Linked DNA regions of Homo sapiens: region 1 is linked to region 2. The links are contacts of gene promoters, found by promoter capture Hi-C in human tissues and cell types (Jung and others, 2019). All regions are on one chromosome and are shown on one strand. The core of a region is centred on a gene start or on the middle of the fragment in contact, and the rest is flanking DNA. Distances in the headings are between cores, read along the strand shown. Region 1 overlaps LINC01044 (long intergenic non-protein coding RNA 1044). Region 2 holds the start of SPACA7 (sperm acrosome associated 7).

Region 1 (6,970 bases), core at 3,869-6,368, 51 kb before region 2:
CACTCACACACACAATCAGTACTTGTGTCAAAATCCTCACATGGCTGTTCTTTCTACCCATTGGACCAGCAAATGTGTTCTTGTCCCAAGTAACCTGAGCCCCTCCAAAAAAAACAAAAAAAAAGAAACACCACTGATTTATGTTTTAGATCTTAATTCATCAAAAACACTGAGCTAGGCCAGGCATGGTAGTGAGCTTCTGTAGTCCCAGCTACTCAGGAAGCTGAGCCACAATAATCACTTGAACCCAGGAGGCAGAGGTTGCAGTGAGCCAAGATCGCGCCACTGCACTCCAGTCTGGGTGACAGAGCAAGACACTGAAGGAAAGGAGAGGAAAGGACAGGAAAGGGGAAAGAAATGGAAAGGGAAGGATAGGAGAGGGGAGGAGAGGGGAAGAGAGGAGAGGTGAGGGGAGGGGAGTTAGATATGATCTGTGCCTGAGAATTAATTTGGTTTTCTTACAAACCAAAAGGCAGGATTCACAATCAAGACAAGGTGATGATGGACAGGCATGCACACATGAGCACGTGGAGCACACAGTGTGTTTGGCTGCAGGAGAAGAATCCAGTTTTCAGCAGGTGAATGCAGAGAAGCCCTGCTGCTCAGGACAAAGAATGTTTCCAGAATGAACCATGTTTGCAGCTCTCCATTGCCCAGGATGAGCGGCGTCCCCAGGTGCCTGGCCCTTTTATCACCCAGGCTGATGGTACATCCAGAGGCAGCCATGGCTCAGCCCCCAAGCAAGGCCAGCAATGGCCGGGAAGAAGCTTATTCAATGGGATTCTCTGCAGAGTTGTTCTGACTTTCAGCTTGCAGGGATGTGGGCATAGAAAACAAGAGGCTGACTTCTCAATCAATCGTCACTTAAGGATGCAGAGCCAGTGGAAGCCCTTTCTTTCATGACTTTTAGCATTTTTTCTTCATTTTCAGAAAATCCACACCATCTCCATATATGCATGCACGCATGAGTGTCCGTCCGCCCCCTAACTGTGGGGTTAAGAATCATGTGACTGCTCATGCTGGAAAAACAAGACAATCACCATCATAAAAGCCCACATCATTTACAGATCTTGGAACTTGAACTTTCTTTAAAAGATAAATATAGTAGTTTACATTTTGGAGCTGGAGACATTGTCTTCCTTTCTCTTTTCCCCTTCCACCCTTCTCAAGTATACTTGCCTTTATTTTGAATGAGAAACAGGCAACGGGGGGGTGCCACCTCACACAAAGAAAAAGGCAATTATTTAGAAACTGCGCAGTCAAAAAGTCAGAAGTGTCTAAAAGCACAGTGAGTCCCCCTGTTCATGGCATGGATGCCCTGTCCACTGATGGCACAGCCACACTGCTGGTGCCTGGGTAGCACCTGCCTCCTTGAGCGATGGTCACTGAAGCAAACCCCACTGTCTGTAGATGCCGTTAGCATCCCCCTCATGAGGTCTGCTCTGTGAGAAGGTCGGTCAGTGAGTGGCAGCACTGGGCAGTGATGAGGAGGACCCTGAGTGGGTGTGGGGCGTCGCCTGGATATTAGCTGTGGGTCAGGTAGACACAGAGAAGATGCTGGTGGGCTAGGCACATGTATCCACCCAGAAGATGAATCTGGTTTTGATCGAAAGTCTTCATAGAGAGAAGAACACTTGGATTTGTTTTGGGGAAGGCTTCCCTGTTAGGATGTAGACGGGGACAGATGTACTGTGACTGCTAGTCCAGGAGACAGATGCTGAGTGAGTGAGGTTTGGATGTCTCGCGTGCCCTGGGCTGGAGGCTGAGATTTCCACGTTAGGTAGGACATGTGTCAGCCGCAGGGACTCACCGGCAGTAGGAGTTTATAGAGAGGGATTTCTGTTGAAGTCATTCACTTCCTCATTTACCTCCATCCCCATATTTGCAATCTTGACTGGGTCCCTGATGACTGCATCCTAGAGTCCCAATTTCCTGAGTTAGAGTACTTCATTTGTAAGCAAAAGTAACCCAGTTCAAGCTGGCATAGGAAAGAAGCAGAAGGCATTCAACGCGGCTGCAGGCATGGATGGCTCCAAGCGTGTAGCAGTGGCAATGCCTTCAGTGGTCCTTGGCTCTGCGTTGGCTGGGCTGGCTTCCTCAGGCGGGAGCATCGCACACTGTGAAGGTGACCATGGCATGCCCTGTGCTGGGGGTGGGCAGCAGGAAGCATCCACCACAGGCACTGAACCTGTAGGGCGCCCAAACCAACAGCCAGCCCCATGGTGGCACTCCACGCGTGGGGGGCCAGGAAGCCTTTAAAATCTCGTTCCAAAACTGACTTAATGACCCAGAAAGCGCAAGTCGGTAAATAGCAATGAAAAAGCAGGCACAACTATTGACAATTGCAAAGACATGGAATCAGCCTATGTGCCCATCAATGGTAGGCTGGATAAAGAAAATGTGGTACATATACACCATGGCCTACTACGCAGCCATAGCAAGGAATGAGATCATGTCCTTTTCAGGAACATGGATGGAGCTGGAAGCCATTATCCTCAGCAAACTAATGCAGGAAGAGAAAACCAAACACCGCATGTTCTCACTTATAAGTGGGAGCCGAATGATGAGAACACATGGACACACTATGGGGAACAACACACTGAGGCCTGTCGGAGGGTGGGGCATGGAGGGACAGAGACCATCAGGAAGAATAGCTGAGGGATGCTGGCTTCATACCTAGGTGACGGGATGGTCTGTGCAGCAAACCTCCATGGCACGTGTTTACCTTTGCAACAAACCTGCACACCCTGCACGTGTACCCTGGAACTTAAAAGCTGAAGGAAAAAAGAAAAGTAAAAGCAGGCACAAATCTTTCTCTCTCTATGCCACACACATGCACACACACACACACACACACAGATTTATAAAAGCAAGTACAAATTGGACATGCGTGGACTCTGCACTGCAGCCATGAGGTGGGATTCTCTCTGCAGAAGAACAGAGAATTCTCTCTGGGTGTGGTCTGGCCTCAGAGCCGGTGTGTGCCATCATCCCTCCCTCCGCTTCCTGCCCCTGCAGATTCCTGCAGGCACTGGGGAGTGACTTCTCTGAGAAGTCTTGAGATCATGAAACCTGTGGTCTTGCCCAACACAGTTCCCAAACTCACTCGTGCCCAAGGCTTTATTTTGAAAGATGCCTATTTGATCTCCCAGAGCTCCAGCTCTGTGGAAAACCCCTTGGGAAGGCTGATCTAACCCAATCTCCCCACTCTACAGATGAGGACATTGAGGCCCCGAAGCATGGAGAGGCCTCTCCACGGATGCAGAGTGAGTGACTGAAGCTCTGGCTGGGTGTGTGTTCATCGCTTGACCCATCTTCCTGAGACCCACGGCTGCTGTCGTGGGTTGAATCATGTCCCCCAAAAAGATGTGTTCGAGTCTTAACCCATGGCACCTGGGGCTTTATATGGAAACGGGGTCCTTGCAGATATAACTGGTTAAGATGAGGTCACACTGAGTAGGGGGGGCCCTAATTCAATGGCCGATGTCTTTATTAAATGGGAAAACATGGACACAGACATGCGCAGAGGGAAGACAGCCATGCAGCAGCAGGGCCAGAGACAGGAGTGATGGGTTTACGAGCCAGGAGCGGCAAGGAGCTGGAAGAGGCGGCGAAAGGCTCCTCCCTGCGGGGCTCAGAGGGGCAGGGTCTCAGGCTTCCAGCCTCCTGCAGAGCTGGAGGTAAGAAACTCGTGCTGTCATATGCCACCTGGCGTGTGGCACTTTGTTACGACAGCCACAGGTGGGGGGCGAGGACCATCTGCTGAGGAAGCTTCATTTATACCGGGAGGGATGCGTGGAAACTGAACAGCCCCGCATCATCCCCCGCCGCCCCCACCCCTTTCTAGCCCCAGTCAGTCTAGGGAATAACAAAAACCTGTGATTCTAAAGCATCTTCCAAACCAGTAACGGGCCTCAGAGAGAGAGATGGGGACAGTCAGGAAACTTAGTCATATTAGTCATAATTCTAAAGAAAATTATCTTCCTGTTTGTTTTCAAAAATACCAGTTTTCTTCAAATATGAATATAAGCCTGATCAATTGGTTCATTATATTGAAATGTTCAGTTACGTACAATAATTATAATTAAGCACTGAAATCCAACTCAAACCAATCTATTTAAATGAACCCGAACCTACGAGAAAACATCAAACTCATGTTAAAAAAAAATGTAGGGTTAGAATATTCCGCAATCCTTTGAAGATATTATTTATAATCGTGCTTGGTAAATCAGAGAAACCCCTTAGAGCCCAAAGACAATGTCTAGCATAAAGCACTGTAGAAATAAAACCCTTTATATATTTTTTATAAAGCCTAAAATCAATCCTGACCCAGGCAGCAGTTTCTACATATTTAGATTTGGTTTGTTGCACCTTTAATGGAATGCTATCAATTTTCTGCCTTTTAGATGCTTGGGCAATTGAAGCATTTTAACACTGCTCTAGAATAAGTGCTTTCTGTGAGTTCATCCTCCAGTTCAAACAGAACTGCATTTCCTGGTAAAATTTTACCTCGTAATTATTACACTTTTTTTTATCATCTTCATGCCACAAGATGTGAAGTCCAAAATATTTATGTTCCCGATTGTCAGTCTTTCCTTCTTAGAGATGTCGAAGTGAAAACAAAATAGACAACTCATTTTGTTGAATCAATACAGGCGCATTATCACAGCAAGATTATAATTCAGGTGCACAAAACCTGCATTTTCAGAGTACAGCAAGGAAGTCGGGAGGTGCTAAGAGGCACAGCAGGTAACTAATATCAGTAAAGTGGCCCAGATCTGTGTTCAAACAACAGAATAGGGGGTCTAACTTCAACCCACAAAAATGACAAAAATCAGAGTGAAGCGCAGAGTCCGTCCCTGAACCCGCCCTGCCACGCGGCAGCCAGGGAGGGTGACCTGCTGTCGTCTGGGGTGGTGACGCTGCTTGGTGACCTCGCCACACGAAAGGACCATGATTCCTGCAGGGCGGAAGCAACCGATGAGCAGTAACAACTCTTCACGGGGACACAGACAGGTAACCGGGGCACAGGTGTCCTGAACACCGCGAGGCAGCCCCCTCCTCCGAGCTCCCTCTCTCTCTCCTCTCTCCTGCCGTGGCTCCCCCACTTCCTTCCTCCGTCGCAGCCACGGCCTCTGCATCTTGATGATCTCTTTTCCAGAAACAACGTTATAACGAAATAGAAGAAACCTCAGTCATCCACGGGGAAAGCAGTGCTTTCCAGCATTTAAGCGCATTTCTGAATGCACTGAGATACACGGCATTTGAATGTAAACTTTATGTCTATTTTGGCTTCCAGAGATCACTCTCTCTAGAGCTTAAACTACACAGAGTCTCCTACAATGAGTGAAGAACAGACCCCAAAACACAAAGCATTTTCCTGGCTGCCCACCCACCAGGCCTTCAGCATGCATAGCTCACTCTCAGGCCGAGAAACAGCACACGCGTGCAGACCCCAGCCTCGTTCCCTGCACCGCCCACCGGCACCTCCCCACGAGCCGGACCGAAGAGGGACCCGGTAGCCCATCGCAGCCTCTGACAGTGCTCAGGAGCAGACCACAGCCAAAAGTCCCAGTCACCCATGGAATTTGGAGGAGGTTAGAAATGTTTCTGTTGTATGATTTCAGGACATCAAGACGCTATTTTTAGGCGTGTGAGTCATCACAGTGTTCCCTGACAAGAGCCAGCCCCAGCACGTGCACGACACCCACAGCGATGGGCTCGTGGAAAACAAGCTCAGCCCGGCTCACGGTGCCCGGAGATCCACCTGGCACCCATCAGTGACCACAGTTCAGGGCGTCGGGTCTTGGCCTGAGCAAGGTGAGGGACAAAGTAGCCCCAGGCAGCAGGCAGGGAGAAGACATGTCCTCTGCCCTGGGAGCAGCAGCTTTGCCCTGTGAGGGCTACGTGGGGCCAGTGCCTCCTGCTCAGCCCAGGACACCCACGGCCGGGCACACAGAGGGCAGGTGCTCAATCCCCATCTCCTGGAGGCCTGGAGTCAGCGGGGCCTGGGGAGGCAGGGCAGATAGATAAGGCAGCCGCCCGGAGGGAACGGCCTCCCTAGAGCATCACACTCACCCCACCAGCACACACGAGCACACACGAGTGCAAAGGAGAGCACACACAAGCACAGAAGGGCACACGGGAGTATACGAGGGCACAGAAATGCATACAGAGCATGTGCAAGCACATGCGAGAGCACCCCCGTCATATTCCATAGCAGCCGGACACCCTGATACCCTCCTTGATGAAGCTTCGTGCCCATAGCCTGGGCCCTGGCTCTGAGGTGGCTTTGAGGACTGACTGGAAGCTCGCGTGCAGCACTGAGCTTCGCCTGGCACCACAGGTCCCTGAATAGCATCGCTACGTTCAGCATCCTTTCCTTAGAACACTGATGAAAAGAAATCTGGATTTGGGCAGAGCACTGACTGTGCTCAGGGGCGTGTCCCCCACATCTGCATGGTTCTCACCAGTTCACTGTACAGACAGCAGCCGCAGCCATAGACAGCACCAGGCCCTCCCACTGCTGTGTGATCCCCCAGGAGCCAGCCGCACAGCCAGCCCCTGCCCTCTGCCCCGCCCTGTGTCCCTGAGAGTGTCACTCACCTTTTCTCATCCTGTGGCTTGGGGAGGTTAGAAAATCTGATAGAAGGTTAGAAAACCTTCACGCACAGGTGCGATGGCTCACATCTGTAATCCCAGAGGCCGAGGCAGGTGGATCGCTTGAGGTCAGGAGTTCGAGACCAGCCTGGCCAACATGGCAAAACCCTGTCTCTATTAAAAATACAAAATTAGCCGGGCATGGTGATGGGCATCTGTAATCCCAGCTACTGGTGAGGCTGAGGCAGGAGAATCAGTTGAACTCAGGAGGCAGAGGTTGCAGTGAGCCAAGATCAGAGTGAGACTCTGTCTCAAAGAAAAGAAAAAAAAAATGAAAGTTTAGAAAAGCACACTTCCACAGCACGTGGCT
Region 2 (7,864 bases), core at 20-2,519:
CTCTGTGTCCTCACCCAAGCATCATCTTGAATTATAATCCTCATAATCCCACGTGTTGAGGGAGGGACTTGGTGGGAGGCGATCTGATCATGGGAGTGGATTCCTGCATGCTGTTCTCATGATAAGTGAGTTCTCACTAGAGCTGATGGTTTTATAAGTGTTTAACAGCTCCTCCTTCATGTACTCTCTCTCCTGCCGCCTTGTGAAGAAGGTGCCTGCTTCCCCTTCCGTCATGATTGTAAGTTTCCTGAGGCCTCCCCAGCCATGCAGAACTGTGAGTCAATTAAATCTCTTTTCTTTATAAATTACCCAGTCTCAGGGAAGTTCTATATAGCAGTGTGGGAACAGACAAACACACCAGCCCTCTCCACCATGGAGCTGGGATCTGAGGGCTGTTCACCTGGGACCCCACCACCGGCCGAGTCTAGACCAGCTGCCCCACTCTGAGCCCTGGATGTAGGAGTCAGTCCAGGGGTGAGATAGGATCCAGGGGAGCCAACCAGAGTGACTCCTTTGGGGTTTTGTCACTGCACGGATGGAGAAAGCTCTAGAAAGTCTAGGAGATAGAGCTGGGAGGATGATAACATGGAAATGCAGCCATGTTCTCCTCTCGTGATTAAAGTCTCACTGCCAGGGAAAGATTGGGGCTGATGCTGAGAAAGAAGGTGTGGGGGAAAGGAGGCTGAAACCTGGGTCATCTGTCTCCTGTTCTTCATGATCCTGGAACTTTGAGGGTGGGGGAGGGTGGGAGGGGACATGGGGCCACGGGCCTCTGTTCTTCAAGGCTCTGTTCTTCAAGGGACCTTTAAGAGGTGATTAGACCCTCTGGATCTGTCGGTTCTGGCACTTGCTCTGTAATTCAACCACCTCTCCAGCATCCTTCAAATACGCCTCTTTCCATGGGAGCAGATTTTGTTGGCTTTTGGCCACTGGCCCTTAAGTCCTGATTAGTATCTACCCCTTGAGTCCTCAGGGTGCTCAGGACAGAGGAAGTCACCAGAACAGGCAATAAGAAAGAGTGGAGAGGATCTCTGTTACCTTAAGACCCCAGTGAGCCTCCTCCCTGCTTCCCAGTCACAGACTCTGGACAGAAACCCTGCCCCCCGCCCCTGGCAAGATGCCAGCTCCCTTCCTGGTCCTGATGTCACAGGTCCCTGGACATGACCTCCCCACCAGGGCAGGACCCCAGCTCCCTTCCTGGTTGTGATGTCACAGGTCCTGACATTCCACAGTGTCCTGGAGACCAAGGATGGGAAACTGTCAACCTTCAGAACGTCCTTCTCCCTCAGCTGGAGGGAGCATGGCAGTGAGCCAAGGAGACGGGACCCTCTGCTTTGTCCTCCTGCTGTGCTGTTGGCAAGAAACTGAGCTCCGGCCGAGAACCGTGATTCCAGGTAGGGCCCCACAGGGATGTCTCAGCAGAAAGAGAACTGAACCAGGTGGGGAGCGGCGGCCTCTTCTCCCATGGGTTCCTCTTATTCCCAACCTACATGAATTTACCATTTATTCCTTGGGGAATGAATGTAGCTGAAAAGTCTTTCTATCTTTGAAGACTTTTTAAAATCTAGATGTCCATAGGAAAGTTGCAAATGTTACTTATTTTAACTTTTTATTATGGAAAATTTCTAACTGGGAAGAATATCATGAACCTTCGTGTATTCACCCTCAGGTTCAATTATTGTGCATATTTTGTTTTTTTCTACACACACACACATACACACTCCACACCACATACACACACTTTTCTTGTTTGGGGAGTATTTTAGCACCATCCCAGATGCCTTACCACCTCATGTAAAACATTTTCTTGCGAAGAGATAAAAGCATTATCTACAATGTCATAATCAGACTAACATAATTACCAAAAGCCTTTATCTCAGCTCATACCGTTAAAAAATATTTGTGATGCTTGCTAAAGATGGGCAGGCAGCCTTTATTCAAAGGGGGCTACTACCATGGTGTCTCATAATAGTGGAGAGTGGGCTCAACTCCAAATACAGGGAAAGTGGAGATTTGCAGCCAAGGATCAGGGTGGGTCAGTGGATGAACATTGCTAAAAGGTAGGAGAATTCTTTGCTAAACTGATTCAGCAAAGGCCAAGAGGGCTTTTATAAACAAAAATGAAGCATTTATATTTTTTGTCCCACCTGATTACTCTAGAATTTGGATATTATGATTTTCAGGACCATACAATTGTTTGCATAAGTTTAATAAAAATTGATTATCCTTGCAACAGGACACAAAGGTCTGCTATCTTTGAAGACCTTTTAAAATCTAGACATCCATGAGAGAGTTGCATATGTTACTTATTTTAACTTTTTATTATGGAAAATTTCTAACTTGGAAGAATATCATGAACCTCCATGTATTCACCCTCTAGTTCAATTATTGTGTATATTGTGTTCGGCCAAACAGGAGGCCAGACCTGAAAGGAAGCCAAGGCAATAAAATAATCAAAGATGGAGGGTGAGGAATTTGATCAGATATCAAGGGTGACCAGGCCAAGACTAGGGGATTTCCACTAAAAGACTTCACAGGATTCCTACTAAACATGGGGAAAAGCAGACAAAAGCAGAAGCTAGGGTCAAGGCCTAGTCAAAGAGAAGACTCAGAGGAGCCTGGCATGAGGTAAGTCAAGGAGCGAGGCTTTCTCATTCCCTCCTCTTGTTCAAGAAAGAAGAGACATTCCTTTTCTCTTTGAACAAGATAAGTCCATGTTTCATCTGGTGGAGGATGTGTGCTGGATGGTACAAGTAGTCGGGAATTTAATGAGGGGAATGTCTACGAAAAAGAGAAGAAAAACAAAGATTTATAGTTGGAAACACAGTTTCCGAATCCAGAGGGCAGTCTGTTGAGAAGATTTCTGGATTTTGGGCTCAAGGTATCTTCAGCCGATGGGGCAAGGATGGATTTCCTAGTTTGCAGGGGGTGTGTCCTTGGTGACATCATGACCATCAGAGCCACAGTCATGGTTATGCTGGGGGCAGAGCGTGGATGTGTCCAGCTTCAGCCTTTCCAGATGGTCCCACGGAAGGCCTGAGTTGTCAGGCTTTAGTTCTCACTAACACCCAGTCAGGAGGGCAGAAGAAAGACTGGAAATGTTAGCCTGGGAACATTGAAGGACTCTAAAAGGCTTCAGGATCCAGTCCAGTTTACAGGTAGATAACAAAGTAGAAAGTAAGGTGGAGTTTATCAAAAGATAAAAAAAAGTAGAATACACAGGGTTATAACTCACAAGGGTGTGCTACCATTTTTCATTAAAACATAAAATATGGCTCTATGGTCACCCTCTTTTTTTGATCAAGATAACCAAAGTAATGCTATTCTTGTCTCAAAAATATATCACATCTTACAAGATTTGGTCTGATTATTTACATAAGTGCAGCAAGAATGGTAATGGACCACATAAACTGAGTTTTCTCTGCTGGAGCTTTTTACAAGGAATCTCAGATTAGATTTTTTAAAAGCTTTTTGAGGCTAGGAAGCCCAGCCAAAAACTCACCATCAGACTTCACATGTGGTACCTAAAGACTTGGGTGAATTTCTCTCTTCCGAAGGTCTCGAGGTTCCCAAAGTTCCTGGATCTGCCAGCAAATGACCTTCTTCACTCACCTGTGGGATGGGGACCCGGTGAGCCAGGTAGCAGGTCAGTTTCTCCAGCTCCATCAAATCAACCTCAGTTTTTAAAAACTGTCTGGTCACCTCTGATTCTATGTATCAATCTCAAATATGACATTCCAGTCAAAGCCTTGGTAATATGACCAATGTTTCCAATCGTGTCCTGTTGCAAGGAGAATCAATTTTTATTAAACTTACGCAAACAATTGTATGGTCCTGAAAATCATAATATCCAAATTCTAGAGTAATCAGGTGGGACAAAAAATATAAATGCTTCATTTTTGTTTATGAAAGTGTAATTACCAAATTGTTGTCCGTTATGCGTAGCCTAAGAGAAACCGGAAGCAGAGAGTTCTTTAAATCTGGAAAACAAAACATTAAAAAACCAGAAACATTTCCAAGAAAATTCAGAAAAATTATAATCGTCCCCACATTGAGTCCCACATCATTAATTCTTGTTCTACTTGATCTTGGGTTAGCAGGTTTACAAATCCGTCAATGTCTCCCTGAGTTCTGGAAAAGTCCAGTCTAATAGTGCAATCTTAGAGGCGTCAGAAACCTTACTCCAGAGTACTTGGCAGAGTCTTACCTAAAAATCTCCTTGAAGACAAAGAATTTTTGGACTGTAGCTGATTGCAAAAGCTTTCAAAAAAGCATCAGAGTAAAACAATAATTGTCTTGAATGACAAAAGACATAAAATGCATAAAATGGCCATGGTTAAAAATCTGATGAGAGTTCATTATGCTGCAATTGACAAGGAAATTTGGTTGTTTCTGTGACATACAACATTACAAGACAATAACGGAAATTAGGACTCATAACTTTATACCAGGACATATCATGGACAGTAAGGACAGTGAAAATTTCTAGGAATTTAATACAATTTCTGAAACACTTATAACATATATGCATACAAATATAAAGAAGGTTAAACATCCCTTATTTGACAATGCTTTTTACGAATTTAATGTATCAAATAAAGCTAATTAGTTTAACATCTTTCTTTTCACCAAGTGAGAGAACAAATCCTTTGAGATTTTCTAGTGGCCCTCTGGGAAATCTCAAAATTAGTTTGAGGTCAAAATTCTTCATTTAGAATTTTACTTGGATGAAGTTGTCAAAAATTATAAAAGTTTTGAATATTTGGTTAAATAGGATCATAAGTTACTATGAAATGGTAGCTATCCATTTAAGTTAAATGACAGTAAAGAATTTTTAAAGAAAATATAGGAAGTAGCATGGTTTTTAAAACAATTTAGCTCTTTTAATATTGAGGAGACTCAGTTTTCTTAAGTAATCAAAAACATGATAAAGAAAACATGAAACACAGGAAATATTTGATAAGACACAGAATCTTTGTTTCCTAGTAAGACTACTCAACAGGTAAGAAACAAGTACCTCTTACAATCTCTTATTAAGAACAGACCAGGCCTGGCGTGGTGGCTCATGCCTGTAATCCCAGCACTTTGGGAGGCCAACATGGGCGGATAATCTGATGTCAGTATTTCAAGATCAGTCTGACCAACATGGTGAAACCCCATCTCTACAAAATTAGCCAGACATGGTGGTGCATGCCTGTAACCCCAGCTACTTGGGAGGCTGAGGCAGGAGAATCACTTGGACCCAGGAAGTGGAGGTTGCAGTGAGCCAAGATCACGCCATTGCACTCCAGCCTAGGCAACAAGAGCAAAACTCAGTCTCAAAAAAAAAAAAAAAAAAAAAACCAGACCAATAATTCAACAAAACTTTGGCCTTTTAGCAGACAGAGAAAATCAAACTCCAGTACTGCATTGCTACACTCTTGATACTAAAGCTCATCTATAAAATCTTATAATAAAATTCATTTACTGCTAGTGTATCTTCACCACATAAGATTTTTCTCTCTCTTTTTTTCTCAGAGACTCGTTACATCTTTCCATACTAATTTACGCATTTTGTCCGGTTTTTTCTCTTCCTGAAAAAACAAATTTTAAACCACTGTAGGACAAAATTACTCACTTTTTTCGTCAACAAAAACACATTCTTCATATCACATAAGCTTTCTTATCAAAAACAGATCTTACTTTCCTTTATACTTTGCACAGGAAGTTGTTTTTCTTCACCCTCATTATTTCCAATAGTTTTAATTACACATGTTGATTATGTTGATTACAATGTTCAACAGAGAAAACTAGGAGTAGACAGTTGTGAATTGTGTCACATATAGCATTCTGTAACAAAGTAGCAAATTGTATGACTATACCATCTTACAATTTTTAGAGATATATTTATCTACAGCATAATTTTTCAAGGTGGCAAAAACAACTTTTGTTAACAGACTCAAATACATTTAGTCTCTCTGTATCATATAAAATAAGAAAACTTTGCTTAGTACTGAGTGTTTCAATAGCTTATCTTATTTAAAAATTATTAATGAAACTCTTGTTTTACTTAACTGATCATGACGCCAGGGTGATGAGTCACCAAAAAGATGTTTAGAAACTGTTTTTAAAAGGCAAACACAGGTTGGGTGCAGTGGCTCATACCTCTAATCCCAGCACTTTGGGAGGTTAAAGCTGGTGGATCACTTGAGCCCAGGAATTTAAAACCAGCCTGGGAAATATGGTGAAACCCCATCTCTACCAAAAAAAATGCAGAAATTAGCAGGGTGTGGTGGCATGTGTCTATAGTTCTGGCTGCTTGGGAGGCTCAGATGGGAGGATCACCTGAGCCCAAGAGGTCGAGGCTGCAGTGAGTCATGATCACACCCCTGCACTCCAGCCTGGCTGACAGAATGAGACCCTGTCCCCCAAAAAAAAAAAAAAAAATGCAGACACGCTATTGTAACTGCCCAAGGGGTTCACTTGCCCCCTGCCCAGGCAGAGCCAATTCTTCAAGACAGGGGAACTGCGATAGAGAAAGAGTAATTCACGCAGAGCCAGCTGTGCAGGAGACCAGAGTTTTATTATTACTCAAATCAGTCTCCCCAGGCATTCGGGAAACAGAGTTTTTACGGATAACTTTGTGGGTGGAGGGAAGCCAGTGAGGCAAGAGTGCTGACTGATCAGGGATGAAATCACAGGGAGTCAAAGCTGTCTTTTTGCACTGAGTCAGTTCCCGGGTGGGGGCCACAAGATCAGATGAGCCACTTTATCCATCTGGGTGGTGCCGGCTGATCCATCAAGGGCAGGATCTGCAAAATATCTCAAGCACTGATCTTAGGAGCAGTTTAGAGAAGGTCAGAATCTTGTGGCCTCCAGCTGCATAACTCTAAACCATATAATTTCTAATCTTGGGGCTAATGTTAGCCCTACAAAAGCAATCTAGACCCCAGGCAAGAAGGAGGACTGCTTTGGGAAAGAGCTGTTACCGTCTTTGTTTAAACTATAAACTAGGTTTCTCCCAAGGTTAGTTCAGCCTACGCCCAGGAGTAAACAAGGACAGATTGGATGTTAGAAGCAAGAGGGAGTCAGTTAAGCTGGAGCTCTTTCACTGTCTCAGTCATAATCTTGCAAACGTGGTTTCAATCTCTCCCTTTGGGTTTTATAGCACCTTAATCTTTTTTGTTGTTTTGTTTTGTTTTGTTTTTGACAGAGTCTCACTCTGTTGCCAGACTGGAGTGCAGAGGCGCCTCTCGATTTCTTGACCTCATGGTCCGCCCGCCTCAGCCTCCCAAAGTGCTGGGACTACAGGCATGAGCCACCGTGCCTGGCCAATAACACCTTAATCTTCAGGTGCAGGCTGTGAAGATGGGAAAAGGCTGTCAATGCTCTGGCTTCTTCCCACTGACAGGGGACGTAGTGGGAATGGGAATGAACCCCAAGGTGAGAACAGTGGAACCGTTTTGCAACTATCTGGGCGACACATGCAGGCCTGGCTGGGCTTCCAAGGCTTGTGTGGTAAAAACATTATTACCTTTATCTATAGTTTTAGTACAGTATTTAAGTAAACAGCATACTATAGGTAAATAATGAGTCCTAGGATAAGGAGCACAATTTTTAATTTTAAAAGCAAAGATTTGAGGCCAGGTGCGGTGGCTTACACCTGTAATCCCAGCACTTTTGGAGACTGAGGCAGGTGGATCACCTGAGGTCAGGAGTTCGAGACCAGCCTGGCCAACATGGTGATACCCTGTCTCTACTAAAAACACAAAAAATTAGCCAGGCATGGTGGCAGGTGCCTGTAATCCCAGCTACTAGGGAGGCTGAGGCAGGAGAATCAGTTGAACCTGGGAGGCAGCAGTTGCAGTAAGCTGAGATCGAGCTA

The links. The method cuts DNA at HindIII sites, captures the fragments that hold promoters and counts their contacts. A contact is called where the count stands out against the background at its distance.
Region 1: a contact is called between a fragment that was not itself captured here and the fragment with the promoter of SPACA7 in region 2, in 3 of the 25 tissues and cell types used here (dorsolateral prefrontal cortex, pancreas and spleen).

The regions. Positions count from the first base shown.
Region 1 is chr13:112,320,640-112,327,609 of GRCh38, forward strand. It overlaps LINC01044 (long intergenic non-protein coding RNA 1044), which reads right to left. Exons shown (of 3, transcript NR_126345.1): 2 at 6,607-6,906; 3 at 1,928-2,117. It overlaps LINC01043 (long intergenic non-protein coding RNA 1043), which reads left to right. Exons shown (of 2, transcript NR_135321.1): 2 at 473-1,127. Among named protein-coding and RNA genes, the nearest start is that of LINC01044, 7.1 kb to the right of the region's middle. The HindIII fragment of the contact is 5,698 bases long and covers 2,270-6,970 here.
Region 2 is chr13:112,375,086-112,382,949 of GRCh38, forward strand. It overlaps SPACA7 (sperm acrosome associated 7), which reads left to right and starts at 1,270. Exons shown (of 7, transcript NM_145248.5): 1 at 1,270-1,394. The coding sequence starts at 1,301. LOC105370373 (a long non-coding RNA gene) reads right to left here and starts at 1,193. Exons shown (of 3, transcript XR_944295.3): 1 at 1,039-1,193. LOC105370372 (a long non-coding RNA gene) reads right to left here. Exons shown (of 5, transcript XR_944294.2): 4 at 3,922-3,980; 5 at 3,653-3,781. RefSeq lists an enhancer at 2,722-3,921. The HindIII fragment of the contact is 14,702 bases long and covers 1-3,863 here.